2 separate regions of the Homo sapiens genome follow, and region 2 is linked to region 1. The links are contacts of gene promoters, found by promoter capture Hi-C in blood cells and fetal thymus (Javierre and others, 2016). All regions are on one chromosome and are shown on one strand. Each heading gives the region's core, a stretch centred on a gene start or on the middle of the fragment in contact. The rest is flanking DNA. Distances are from core to core; before and after follow the strand shown.

What was found. The method cuts DNA at HindIII sites, captures the fragments that hold promoters and counts their contacts. A CHiCAGO score of 5 or more calls a contact.
Region 2: a contact is called between the fragment with the promoter of PTDSS1 here and the fragment with the promoter of SLC25A32 in region 1, in 1 of 17 cell types (non-activated CD4 T cells). The highest score is 7.2, in non-activated CD4 T cells.

Annotation. Positions count from the first base shown.
Region 1 is chr8:103,411,812-103,418,420 of GRCh38, reverse strand. It overlaps SLC25A32 (solute carrier family 25 member 32), which reads left to right and starts at 3,314. Exons shown (of 7, transcript NM_030780.5): 1 at 3,314-3,637. The coding sequence starts at 3,484. It overlaps DCAF13 (DDB1 and CUL4 associated factor 13), which reads right to left and starts at 3,035. Exons shown (of 11, transcript NM_015420.7): 1 at 2,905-3,035. The coding sequence starts at 2,974. RefSeq lists enhancers at 2,954-3,293, 3,027-3,648. The HindIII fragment of the contact is 9,226 bases long and covers 1-6,609 here.
Region 2 is chr8:96,259,565-96,266,173 of GRCh38, reverse strand. It overlaps PTDSS1 (phosphatidylserine synthase 1), which reads right to left and starts at 4,272. Exons shown (of 13, transcript NM_014754.3): 1 at 3,955-4,272. The coding sequence starts at 4,133. MTERF3 (mitochondrial transcription termination factor 3) reads left to right here and starts at 4,564. Exons shown (of 8, transcript NM_015942.5): 1 at 4,564-4,673. LOC105375652 (a long non-coding RNA gene) reads left to right here. Exons shown (of 3, transcript XR_928431.3): 3 at 1,282-1,368. RefSeq lists enhancers at 3,347-3,586, 3,732-4,424, 4,907-4,966, 5,118-5,811 and silencers at 3,737-3,916, 3,967-4,336, 4,517-4,666, 4,419-4,743. The HindIII fragment of the contact is 8,922 bases long and covers 2,195-6,609 here.

The DNA of each region.
Region 1 (6,609 bases), core at 2,065-4,564:
AGCCTCCCAAGTAGCTTGGACCTGAGGCATGCACCACCATGCCCCATTAATCTTTAAATTTTTTGTAGAGACGGGGGTCTCCTTATGATGCCCAGGCTACTCTCGAACTCCTGGGCTCAAGAGATCCTCCCACCTTTGCCGCCCAAAGTGTTGGGTTTATGAATGTGAGCCACTGCATTCCCAGGCAGTTTGGGTCTTCATTATCTTATACTTGGGCTACTTTAATATCATCCCTACTTGATTTGGCGGCAATTTACACTATTATCAGATGTCTTTTTTTTTCTTTTTTTTTTGAGACGGAGTCTTGCTCTGTTGCCCAGGCTGGAGTGCAGTGGCGCAATCTCGGCTCACTGCAAGCTCCACCTCCCGGGTTCACACCATTCTCCTGCCTCAGCCTCCCGAGTAGCTGGGACTACAGGCACCCGCCACCATGCCCGGCTAATTTATTTATTTTTTTGTATTTTTAGTAGAGATGGGGTTTCACCATGTTAGCCAGGATAGTCTCGATCTCCTGACCTCGTGATCTTCCCGCCTCGGCCTCCCAAAGTGCTGGGATTACAGGCGTGAGCCACTGCGCCCAGCCTATCAGATGTCATCTTAAAACAGCTTTTTACATGTCACTCCCATGCTTAAAACTTCCAAAGGCTCCCTATATAGTAGTCTTCAAACTTTCTGTGTGCCCCATTAATAACAGAGTTTTTGAGCAGATCCCTTCTCAACATATGTGTATGTTAATGAGAGCATGTAATTAAAGATGTTCTTTTTTTTTTTTTTTTTTTGAGACGGAGTCTCCCTCTGTCACCCAGGCTGGAGTGCAGTGACGCAATCTCGGCTCACTGCAAGCTCTGCCTCCTGGGTTCACACCATTCTCCCGCCTCAGCCTCCTGAGTAGCTGTGACTACAGGCACCCAGCACCACGCTGGGCTAATTTTTTTGTATTTTTAGTAGAGACGGGATTTCACTGTGTTAGCCAGGATGGTCTCAATCTCCTGACCTCGTGATCCGCCCGTCTCGGCCTCCCAAAGTGCTGGGATTACAGGCATAAGCCACCACGCCCAGCCAAAGATCTTTTTTTTTAAGAAAAATCTTGATTCAACACTGTGATAGATTTAAAGGTTCTAATTTCAGCTTAATTCAATGTTTGGTTTTAATGGCTACTATTATAAAAAAAATTCAAGCAGTACTCACTTTCGCACTGTACTGTATTAACGGGACGGGTTGCATACTGGAATCAATTCCCCACTTTGCAAAGTTTCGTGGTTAACAGATGTGATTTCAATCACTGTAAACCTCTTAAAGAGTGGGACTGGTTCAGTTAATATGGTACTGTGCAAAGTGCAGAATGCCTGTACTTCACAAAGAAAGCATACCCAAAATGATAATGTCCATAATTGGCCACGTTTATTTAATATATTTAATTTTCAGTCTCATCCATCAGTTTTGCAAAGATTATTTTTGAAGTCTAGAAAATTTCTATCTACTCTGATGTCAGCAGCTGTTCCTACAACTAAAATTAGCATTTTAATAATTTCAACAGAAGTTTAAAAACCCCAACAAGATAGATCATTTTGTTTCTAAATCTCTTCATGTAGGCAAAAATGAATCTTTATAGATGGAGAAACTGACATTTATTAAAGCAACTATGTGCTAGGTGCTGTCTTAACAGTGCATACACGAACATGATTCTTCCCCTTTTTGGAGGCTAAGTCTGATGGGAAAGACTATTAACCAAAATAATAATCATGAGACAATGTGATAAACACTGTGAAGAAGTGATAGAATCACAGAAGACGGGTGCTGAAGGGGGCGGGGCTCATGCAGGAGGTAAGCAGGAACAGATTACTGTTCGGTGAAAGTCTTCCAGAGAAAGCGGCTAAACTGGGTAAGGGTGTGTGCCACAGGAGGCCTTAAAAAAGATGACTGAAACGCACTGAGATTTGCAAGGGTGAATACTAAACCACTTGTGGGAAACGTAGTGACTGACTAAAGTGGCAAGGAAGGTGGGACCAGAGATTCAAGGACTGGGAACGATGCCAAATCCAAGTGACAAATCTAATTTATATTTTAGAAACATTACTGCCTTGTGACAAACTGTAAACATCTTTTGAGCAGAGACTTATTAGCAATGCTCACACACATGTTGATAATATCTCCTACTCAACCAAAATAGTGAAATACTGTTTTCGCCTCATCTCATCTCGCTTACTCCTCATTCAAACTAATGACACAGCCCTTCTTTCTATGCCTTAGGTTCATTCCTGCCTGAAGACCTTTGCTCCTGTTATTCTCTTTATTTAGAACAATCTGCTTACGCATGGTTGGTCCCTTGTCATTTAGGTATCACAAAGTACAATTTATAAGTGGTTAGCATGTTAACGGGGGAACAGACCAGGAAGGATAAATTAATTTCATTTAACCATTCTTTCATCAAACTTCTTAAGGGATGGTAAGAGAAAACTGATGCTTTTAAATTCATCTTTGTCTCTTCCAACATCCACAACTAATGTGAAGTAGTAAAGCGGCAAGAAGAGCAGTAGGAAGGTTTTAAAAGCCTGTTTAACTCTCAGCCCTTCAACCCACGAGTTTGGCTCATTCAAGTCCACTTTTCAGTAATAGGAACCTGAAGACAATCCCAGAGCAGCAGCTGGAATTTTTCTCCACTATAGACAACTGTTTCCCACTCACCACTAGAGGAAATTCTTAGAAAAAGGACTTGAACAGACTTTACTTGCTATCCATCCAGTTCCGCAGCGACTCCGTAAGCACAAAGTTTGCCTTAGCGAAAGGTAACTGAGAAAGAACCAGACCAGAGTGCCAGCCTCCCCCGGCTTTACTCCGCGAAAGCCGAGGCTAGACCCAACGACTTGCGGAAACCGTCCCTTTCTCCCTACCAACTTATCTTACCTCTCTGTAAGTCCAACTTGGTTTCGCGGACATAATTGTCCGGATTCCGGCTCAGCATCTTCACCTTCATCTCGGTTGCTCTTCCGGCCGGACTCCACGAGGTGTCCGCTAGGAGTTCCGCCCACCGCCACCTCCTCCCACAGGCGACTTCCGCTTTTCCCAGACTACTTCCAGTCACGTGACTCGCGGAGCGGCGGCCTGCTGGCTCAACTGGATCCTGCGCCGCTCCGTAGTTTTGCCGGCAAACGTTAGCAAGGGGCGGTTCTTTAGCTGTGCAGTCGCTTCCGCGTCCGTGGGCTGGAGCATTTGTGGGCGAGGCAGGGCGGAGACTCGGGAGAGGCTGGGACCTCCCCTCCATCGCGCTTTCCGCCGGCGTGACGTAGTGTCTGTGCCCCGTTCTTGCCCCCTCAGTACTAGAGTCTCCGGCTTCGCTCACGCGCCTTGGGCATAAGAGTCCTCTCGTTGGTCCCGGAGGTGGGGTTGCGCTCACAAGGGGCGACCGTCGCCACGGTGGCGGCCACTGCATCGCGTCCCACCTCCGCGGCCCTGGGCGCCGTGGTGTCGACGGGCCCCGAGCCTATGACGGGCCAGGGCCAGTCGGCGTCCGGGTCGTCGGCGTGGAGCACGGTATTCCGCCACGTCCGGTATGAGAACCTGATAGCGGGCGTGAGCGGCGGCGTCTTATCCAACCTTGCGCTGCATCCGCTCGACCTCGTGAAGATCCGCTTCGCCGGTAAGAGCCCGCCCAGACACCGGGCTGCATCCTCTCACTGTCAGCCCGAACTGGATCTCCTCCGTCTTTTCCGTTCTAGGGGGAGGAGGAGCGTTGAAGGGAGCGTTGCTGTCCGCGTTGGCTAACCTGAACTAGATTTGAGGAAATGGTGCTTGGTGGAGGGGTCGGCCTGCGATCTTCCCCGCTCCTCAAGACTAAGAGAGGGGGCATGTATGTAGAGAAGTCTGAGAAAAAACATCCTCATTGGCAGAGAAGATGGGATTCAAAGCCTGATTTGTAAAATAAAGAAGGGATTGTCACATTTTAAGGTTTAGTCCTCACACGTGCAAATCATTCACTCTTGGAGGAACTTTGAAATCTTAGCATACCCACGTGGTTTGGCAGCTCGACTAGTATTGGGATAGGGCGTAATCTTCAGCGAATGGTTGGGAGTAGATTTAGAATAGAATTCTCTTGAATGTTTGTTTTTTGGCATTTGTAGAATGGTACAAGTTTCTGTGAAAAAATAGCTAGAATCGAAATACTATTTTAAGTGTATTAGATGAATTGAGTATGTTGAAATTAACAAAGCATTTTAGAAGTTAAACTCAACACTAAAGTCTGGAAAGAGTTTCAAAGATGATCTTTGATAACTGAAATTGCAGAAAATAGTTTCCAAATAAAGTTATTACAAGTTAAGTTCAGCCTTGAGAATTAAATCTACAGAAGTTGTTTATTTTAGCATTAGGCAATTCAGTTCACTTGATTTATATTCTCTTAATATTTGTAGACTGCTGTATGGGCTACAGAAGTATCTAATAAAGTTCTTGCCTTCAGGGAACTTAGAATTTAATTGTAGGCGTTAGACTTAGTCATATAAAAGGTAATTCTAGACAACATAAAATCAAGAAATACAAAAACAAAATATAAATACAGGTAAACCGTTAAGAAAATTCTACATTACTGATGGCCATGTGTATCTTTAAGGTTCAGTGGAAGATTGGGGCTTGGGGTTTCCCATAGAAGGGCTAATATTTTGACAGCTGGAGAGGAAGCAAGAACCCGTTCTATGAAGGAAAATCATCGAAAATTATGGAGTATTATCTCTAGAAAAAACACCACAAAGACATATAATGTCATGAAGTTTTATGATGCATGCACAAATAATTATGTTATTGACAAGTAATCTTTATCGAGTATTTACTAGGAGCAAGGCAGTGAACTATGCTTTAGATGCATTATCTCATTTATTATCCTGTAAATCTATTCACAGGAACAATCCTGTGAGTTTATGATATCTGCTATACAGATGAGGATAACAGAAGTTGACTAACTTGCCCAAGTCACAAGTTTGTAAAGATGGATCTGGGATTTAAACCCAGGTAATCTAACTCTGGAACCCTCTGGCACTTAACCCCTCACCGTATTACCTCTATAAGTACCTGTTATACAATGGTTTGAACATTGGAAGAATTTTAGACTTGCCTGCAGGTGCAGGCCTGTATGACTTGCTGTCTGTCTTCAGTAGCATTTTATCTAGGAGCAGAAGAGGTGATAGTCGAGGTGATCATTGAAGAATAGTGTGGTTGGCCTGATGAGTTTAGACAGTGCTTTGAAGCATATCATTCCTGAGGAAAGGGAATTCTTGGTACCTGAGAAGATTAATAGTCTTGATGAATTGGGAAGAGTATTAGGAGACTAGTGGGGCTGAGGTGACAGATAAAAGGATTGAGTTTGGATTGGAGGCCTAAATTAAAGATCCAGGAGTGGAAGCAGGACTTTGTAATAATAAAGCTCACAGTGTAGCTGTGAAATGGTGATAGGAGGAAAACTTAAGAAGATGAATAACGAAATAAAAATTTATTGATTATCAACATCAGTGCTGAGTAACATACTATAATTTTTATGCTTCCATGTAATTAAACTCATTTAATAAAGTTAAAATCTAATGATGACAGGGTGTGGGGGTTAATTCTGAATGCATGTGCTATTAAACCAAACCTGGAATTTTTCTGTGAGTTCAAGTATAAATTGGAACTCAGAGGTGTCCAGAGTGGTAGAAAGATTAGAAATTACTTCATATGAAAAATGACTGGAGGAACTAGTTTAGCTCGGGAGAGAAAAAAACCTCAAGATATTTAGAGAACTTACATGTGGGAAAGGGGGCTGCCTTATTGTGGGTTGATCCTAAGGTCAGACACAGGTTGAGTGGAAATTACAAGGAAGCAGATTTTGGTTTGGCAATGTGGCAGTGCTCAGAAATGAAATTGATGATGATCAGAAGTGGTTCAGATAGTAGTTGGATGACAGAAGTTAGAAGATATTCTTGTATTAGGTGGAAAGATTGGATTGGATGATTATTCAGGCCCCTTCTAACTTTACTCTGTAATTTTAAACCCTCAAGAATGATGAGAGAGCCCCAACAAAGAATGAGATGTAAAAATAGTAATTTTCTCAAATACCCAAAAGCCTAATCTGCAAGTTAAAGTTGTGTGTGAGCTTTTGTGAAGAATGTAGAGACTATGACTACATCCAAAATATTAAGGAACCAAAACGTAAAATTCAGTAACAGTAGTGCCGAGTAAAGTTGTGTAAGTATGTGGTATCGCAAGACCCAGTAGCATAAATAAACTAGTACTTACAGAGTGCTTGCAATATGTCAGGCATAATTCTAAGAGCTTTATATGTACTAACTGATTTAATCCTTTATAATTTTTAGAGTTAGGTTCTATTATTTTTTCCTATCTTACAGAAAAACTCAGGCACAGAGCAATCAAGTGACTTACTCAGGGTTGCAAAGTAATTGCTAGAACTGGGATTCAAGCTCAGAAAGTCTGTTTCCGTAACATATGCTGTTAGTTTGAAACCATGAGTGGGTAGTTTGGTATAGCTAAAGGGTAAATTAAAATGCTAGAGATGGAAATAAAGAATGATTCCAGAAAGTTAAGCTGCCAGATTGACATTATCTTTTATGCCATGTGAAAATGGAAACT
Region 2 (6,609 bases), core at 3,023-5,522, 7.2 Mb after region 1:
GCTTCTTTGAATGTGAATTAATAGATTCTGGTGTTTTCTAAATCTAAAGCTTGAGTTTTTTAAACTAAAGGCATTCAATATTTCCAAGTTTACCAACCCCTGAATGCAGAGTAAATATGAGGGTATCTTATAGGTAATTATTATACTCTGAGCTTGAGACAAAAGTTTTCCTTGCCCTACTTTGCTAACAAACTTCTAAGACATATGCGTAAGCATTTATTTATAAAAATACTATTTATTTTTTAATAGAGATGGGGTCTTGCTATGTTAGCCAGGTTGGTCTTGGACTCTTGGCCTCAAGCAATCCTCCCACCTTGGCTTCCCAAAGTGCTAGGATTACCGGCGTAAGCCATTGCACCCAGCCTACTTATTCTAAAATGTGGGAAAATAAGTTTTTGGTTTTCTTTTGAGACAGGGTCTCATTCTGTCGAGTGAGTAGGGTGGAGGCTGGAGTATGGTGGCGTGATTCAGCTCACTGCAACCTCTGCCTCCTAGGCTCAGGTGATCGTCTTACTTCAGCCTCCAGGTGCATGCCACCACGCCCAGCTAATTTTTGTTTTGTTTTGTTTTGTTTTGTTTTGTTTTGTTTGTTTGTAGAGATAGGGTTACACCATGTTGTCCAGGCTGGAAATGAGCTTTTTCAAATAGGAAAATGATTAGGTAGTATCTAACTTTATTTTTAATGATGGTGATAAAGACAGGAGATATTTAAATACTATGGTTTAACAGGGAATTGACCTAAGGGCCATCTAACAAAAGAACTACTTGACAAATCCAAACTTGTCTCAGACTTCAGTGCAAGGTATCTAATCCTCTGTAATTTTAAATTCTTGCTGGATCTCTGAAGCATGTGACAGTACCCAAGTACTGTTTCTCACATACTGGTTATATGACATCCCAAAAGAATCCTATCTCCTCGTTCTCTTAGACAACTAGTCTTTGCAAAACAAACTTTAAGACATATCTTTTAAGTTTTACTGAAAGAATTGCACTGAACAATTGTCCAACTAAAATCTTATAAAATAAATAATAAGGCACTGGAGTTAATCATTACAAAAGAACATAGGATACATTTTCATTTAAGAAGTCGTTACTTTCCGTCTTTATGGAGGAATATAGAGCTATCATTGTAATGCCCCACTTAAGTCACAAATCATTACAAAAAATGAGTAAGATTTAGTAAGTACGAATTCTATTAATGGTGCTTATGATTTTATATAAAGTGAAACTTGTTATTAATTAGTTCTTCATTATGTGATTTCTGTCTCTTTATGAAATTAGTGGAAGAAATAAAATTGTTAACATTTTTGGATGAGACTACAGTCTGAAGTTCAGATTATGGTTCTTCTATTATTTTGGACAAGCTGTTAAAATTCGTATTCATTTCTTATACTTTCACTGCTGCAATTTATTGACTGCCTTGACAGAATATGATGTAAAAGGAAATTTCAGAAGATTGTGACTTTTTATATCAGAAAAGAGGAAGAGAAACCTATTTTGAAAGGACCTAGAATAATATTAAAAATGAAAGGCTGAAACAAATGGCTCATTCTTGCTTCTCATTATTTAAAACAAAATACCATAATTATTTTTCTAATTTCCAGAGAAACTCCCTCACTAATTTCATTATTTCAAGCCCACACCTAAGATGAAGTTAAACTGAAGTTAACATCAAACAGGTATGTATGTTATCTAATGTCCATTTTTCCAGTGCTTTTATCCTTCTCAATTACAGAGCATACTACATCCTCGTTCAATAATAAATATAAATTAGAAGACAGTAGCATTCAATGAAATCACATCGTAATAACCACTAATGTTTATTAAGCACTTAATACTTGCCATGCACTGAGCTAAACAGATTATCTAAAAAGATGAATTTAATCCTCATGACAAATAATCCCGACAGATTAATGTATTGATATTTTCATTTTACATACAGATAAGGAAACTGAGGCCTAGCAAAATTATGTGGCCACACAGCTATTAAGTGATAAAATCAGGCAACATAATGAAGTATTTGAAAGTAACCATAGTTAGGGACATGATTCATTTCTCTCCAAAGCTAGAAATATGTCTGGTCAGGTACTGTGGAAAGGTCTGGTCTTCACCTGCTGCACAGCTTTAGCAGATTTTATAGTAATAGTGGCAAGATCCCTCAATCATTAAAGAGTAAGCAATTGTTACTTAAGCTTTATACCTTTAGGTAGATTCTTTCAAATGGATAAACACTTACATAACAAGAACCAAGAGTCAAATGAATCCCAGAGGTAAGGAACAAGTGTGATGTGGGAGGATATTAGTTTTATGAGGATTTGAAAAACTGCAGTTATTCCTAAGGGAGGCACCACCGGCACTTGTGTGTGTGTATGCAAACGACTGTGTAGAAGACAATTCCCTTTATGTTGTACAGCGCTGTCACATATGTCACAATACATTTAGTATCCGTTAACTGCTCCCCCTCCCAAATACTAGAAGTTCTCTCAATCCTTGTGACTACCCAATATATATATCCCTACACATGTTCTGCTGACCCTGACAGAGAACCTTGATTGTTGGATAAAAATACTGGGAGAGAAGTAACTGACATGAATTGTACATTGTGCTCCAGGGACTCTGCTAAATGCATTCACACACATTCATTTAATTTTCATAACCCTATATAAGTAGATATTTCATCCCCATTTTACGAGTGTGGCCCCTGAGGCTCAGAGCAAGGTTATGCAACTTAATTAAGGACACACAGCCAGTTTTGAAACCAAAAGTGTGGCTCAAAAACTACTCTACTCTAAGTTGGCCTTTTAAGCCATAATGGTGAGAGAGGTGTGACTTCCCTTTCTTTAAAGAGGTTCATTCAGAAAGTATAAATCATTCTAAGTAGGAACCACGGTGTGTACCTCCTTATGAACCAAGGATGAATTAGTTCTCTAGGTTAGGAATGAGGAGCCACAGGCGCAGTGCCAGAGTTAACATGAGGTGTGTTCAAGATTTGGGCTGGGCAGCTCCTATGAACCGGTATATATTAGAATGTGTGTGTATGTTTTCCAGGGAATAAGAGAGTTGTGTTATGCTGTGTGAGGTTTATGTGTTTCATTTAACACACAGCAGTTACTATACCCCAGGCACCATTAAAATTGCTGGACAAGATCACATTTCAGCACGTATGTTAGGTAATGAGTGAGCAGGGTATGCACCGCGTGATGTGTGGCGGGCTGGTGTCTGTGCAGCCATGTACACAGATGATGGGTATTGGGCTGTGCTGGAAAGGAAAGGTCCGCTGTGAGGTGTGTGTTTAGAGTGGCAGTTTGTGCCGTGGTACAGATGGTAGTGTTTGAGGCTGGGGGAAGTGTTATGCTGGATGACTTGTGTGCAATGCATACGGGAAGTGCTGCACAGGAAAGACCGTGTATGCAGCACACATGTGCATTTTTTGTGCGTTACGGATAGTGCCGAATACCGGAGTTCCACAGGAAGGGATCTAGGTTGTGTCCTGGGCCTGTGTATGGTGCCTGCAGGCGCTGTGGATTGGGGTGCTTTGTATGTGTAGCGGTGTGTGCTGAAAGTGGTGCATACGACATGATTCATGCGGTGTGCTGGGTAGGGACGAAGGCTGGAGCAGTGCAGAGGAGGGGCCCGCGTCGTGATGTTGTGTGGAGCGATGCTGAGTGCGGTGGGTGAGGGGGCGATCGTGCTAGGTGACTCGCGTGCGTTCCCCGTGTAACCGGAGGCGCTGTATGGAGAAGGGGCACTGAGGGGTAGGGGAGCAGGCTAGCGTACTGTGAGACACCGGGCGGGCGGAGGGGCCGCGTGGGCGGCGGGCTGCCAGTGCGTGTGCGTGGAGCAGCCAGCCCACTTCCTCACCCAGAGCCATGCCGGGCCCCCCTCCCCGCCACCCTCCCTCCCGCCTCTTCCCTAGCCCTTGGACGCGCCCCCCGCTCGGCTGGGCCGCCCCACCTGGTAAAGGCGAAGTACATGAGGCTGACGATGGTGAAGCTGAGCAGGGTGATGGTATGCGGCCGGTAGAAGAAGTCAATGGTGATGTCCTCCACTTGCTGCTCGTTGATCATCCGGAAATGCATTTTGTAGTTCACATCATCCTTGCTTAGGGTCCGGCTCCCCACGCAGGACGCCATGGCCCGCCTCCCCGTCCTGCCGCGGTGGCGGCGGCCCCAGCCCGAGAAGGCCGGGACCCCGGGGGTGACTAGCCACAGTAGGCTAATAGCCGGACGGCAAAGCCGGGTCTGGCGCCCAGCAAAGGCTGGGAGCAGAGGGAAGGACAGGCGCGAGAGGGCGGGGTCGCGGCGCCGCCACCGCGGCCTGGGGCAGGGGACGCCGCCGGCCGTCCCCACGCTGTCATCCTAGCTGAGGCATCTCTACCACTCGAGGAATTTTCAGACTCCAAGTCCACAGGACTTCAGAGGAATAGCGAGCCGGAGAAGGGTAGCCGGGGCCCCTGGCTGGCTCTTTTCAGAGCACGTAGCCCGCTGTCTCCCCGCGTAACCCGGCACATGGTCTCGCCCACTCCGGGCGCGGCCCACGTGGGCCCGGGAGCGCGGCTGCGCTGTGTAGGGCGGGCTGAGGAGCCGGCGTGCGGCGCGGCGGGACGGGACGTGCGGCCCAGCGAGTTGGTCGGTCCCGGGGTCACCCGCTACGGGAAGCAGGCCTCGCCACAGGTAAAGCAGGAGCTGCCCCAGCACGAGGATCGCGCTCCTGGCGAGGGTTCAGGTTCCGGCGCACCCGCGTCCAGACCGCGCCCCAGGGCCTCAAGGGCCTTTAGGTTTTCGCGGCCCAGTAGAGGGTGATTGGTTTTGTTTTGTGTTTTTCCCTGGCTGATGTAGTGAAAACTCAACCATGCTGGCTAATTAGCGCAGTGTGAGAAGCCTCAGGAGGGGGCTCTGCCTTCCTGCGCAAGTTTGGGGAACTGAAGTGGGCTAAAATGGCCTGGGAAGTATTGAGAGACCCTTTATTAGGAAGCTGCCCCCATAACCTCCCTTTCTCTCCTGATTTCATTTATAGCATTTCGTAGGTAGAAATCTTGAACTCTATTTCAGTGCCTTTTTCTAGCGAAGCACTAGGCACTCATTGAGAACAGTATATATGAATTGTTAAGAGACTTCAGTTTCTTTAAGGGTTTTCTGTAATTTTCCTGATGAAAGGACCTTGTTAGAAGACTTCAGGTTACCACCTTACAGGGCTTTTATACACATCTGCACATCCCCTACCCGCTTTTGCATACTGTGTAAGCAAGTGAGTTAACTGTACTTGCCATTGATTTATTTCCATTCCGCAAACATTAGAGCAGTACAAGGCTCTGGGAAAGTGGAGAATAGTCCCCGGAAGGATGGATCCAGGGATGAGACCCAGCTCTGCTCTCGTGCATGAACAGTTAATCAATTGTTAAGATGTGTAGGCAGCAATGAAAGGATGTGGAGAAGATAGTGCACTTGTAAATAAAAATGCAAGGATAAACATTAGTTGTATGCACAAAGATCTTTTAATGACGGGGTGAAATTTGAAAGTGAGTCTTCCTGATGTTTAAGTGGTATTGAGTGTGGAAAGGCTTCAGGATGAATTTGGGATTTCAGGAGTTTGAAGTAGGATGAAGTGCTTAGACGTCAAAAAATGTTAGAGCTGATAGGGGCCTTAAGAATCATCTTATTGTACCCCTAGCCTTTTAAAAAAGCATTATTTGAAGAATAGTTATTGACCCCACCCCCACCCCCCACATCATGGGCTAGACTGCTGCTTTTGTTAGACTGCTGCCAGAAACAGCCTTGTCAAGGTAGCACAACCGAGGTCTTCTGACTTTCAATTTAGTGCCCTTATGACTACCGTGCAGAGAATGAATGTTGTAGGTTTGAGGGAAAACTTGGCACATTTGGAGTCCCATTTCCCACCAAAATCTAACAGAAACCACCTATCCCAGCAGGGTATTGTGAATACTTACTTCTTTTCTAAAATCATCGCAGAATGGGCCGAGCGCAGTGGCTCACGCCTGTAATCCCAGCACTTTGGGAAGCTGGGTGGATCACCTGAGGTAAGGAGTTCGAGGCCAGCCTGGCCAAGATGGTGAAACCCCGTCTCTACTAAAAACACAAAAAATTAGCCGGGCATAGTAGCGGGCGTGGGTAATCCCAGCTACTCGGGAGGCTGAGGCAGGAGAATCACTTGAACCTGGGAGGCAGAGGTTGCAGTGAGCCAAGATGGTGCCGTTGTACTCCAGCCTGGGCAACAAGGGCGAAACTCCGTCTCAAAAAAAATAATAATAATAATAATAATAAATAATTGCAGAATGAAAGGAAACTTTCACTTTTGTAAAATCTCTTTCAGCAAACTTCCCAAAACTACAGATCTCCAAGAAAAGATTAGACCCTCAAGTATTTGGTCTAATTTAGAGCATAAAACAAGCTGAATTCCAGTATGCAGAAAAACAAAGTATAAAGTTGTAGGCAGCAATTAATTCAGCAGAATTTTTGTATTTGGTTGTGTAACCAATAATAATGGCTAACATTTATTGAGCATTTCTTATATCCTGACTCCATCCTGTGTTTTATATGGATAATGTTATTTAACGTAAGATTATATGCATCAAATTTACCTTTCTAATTA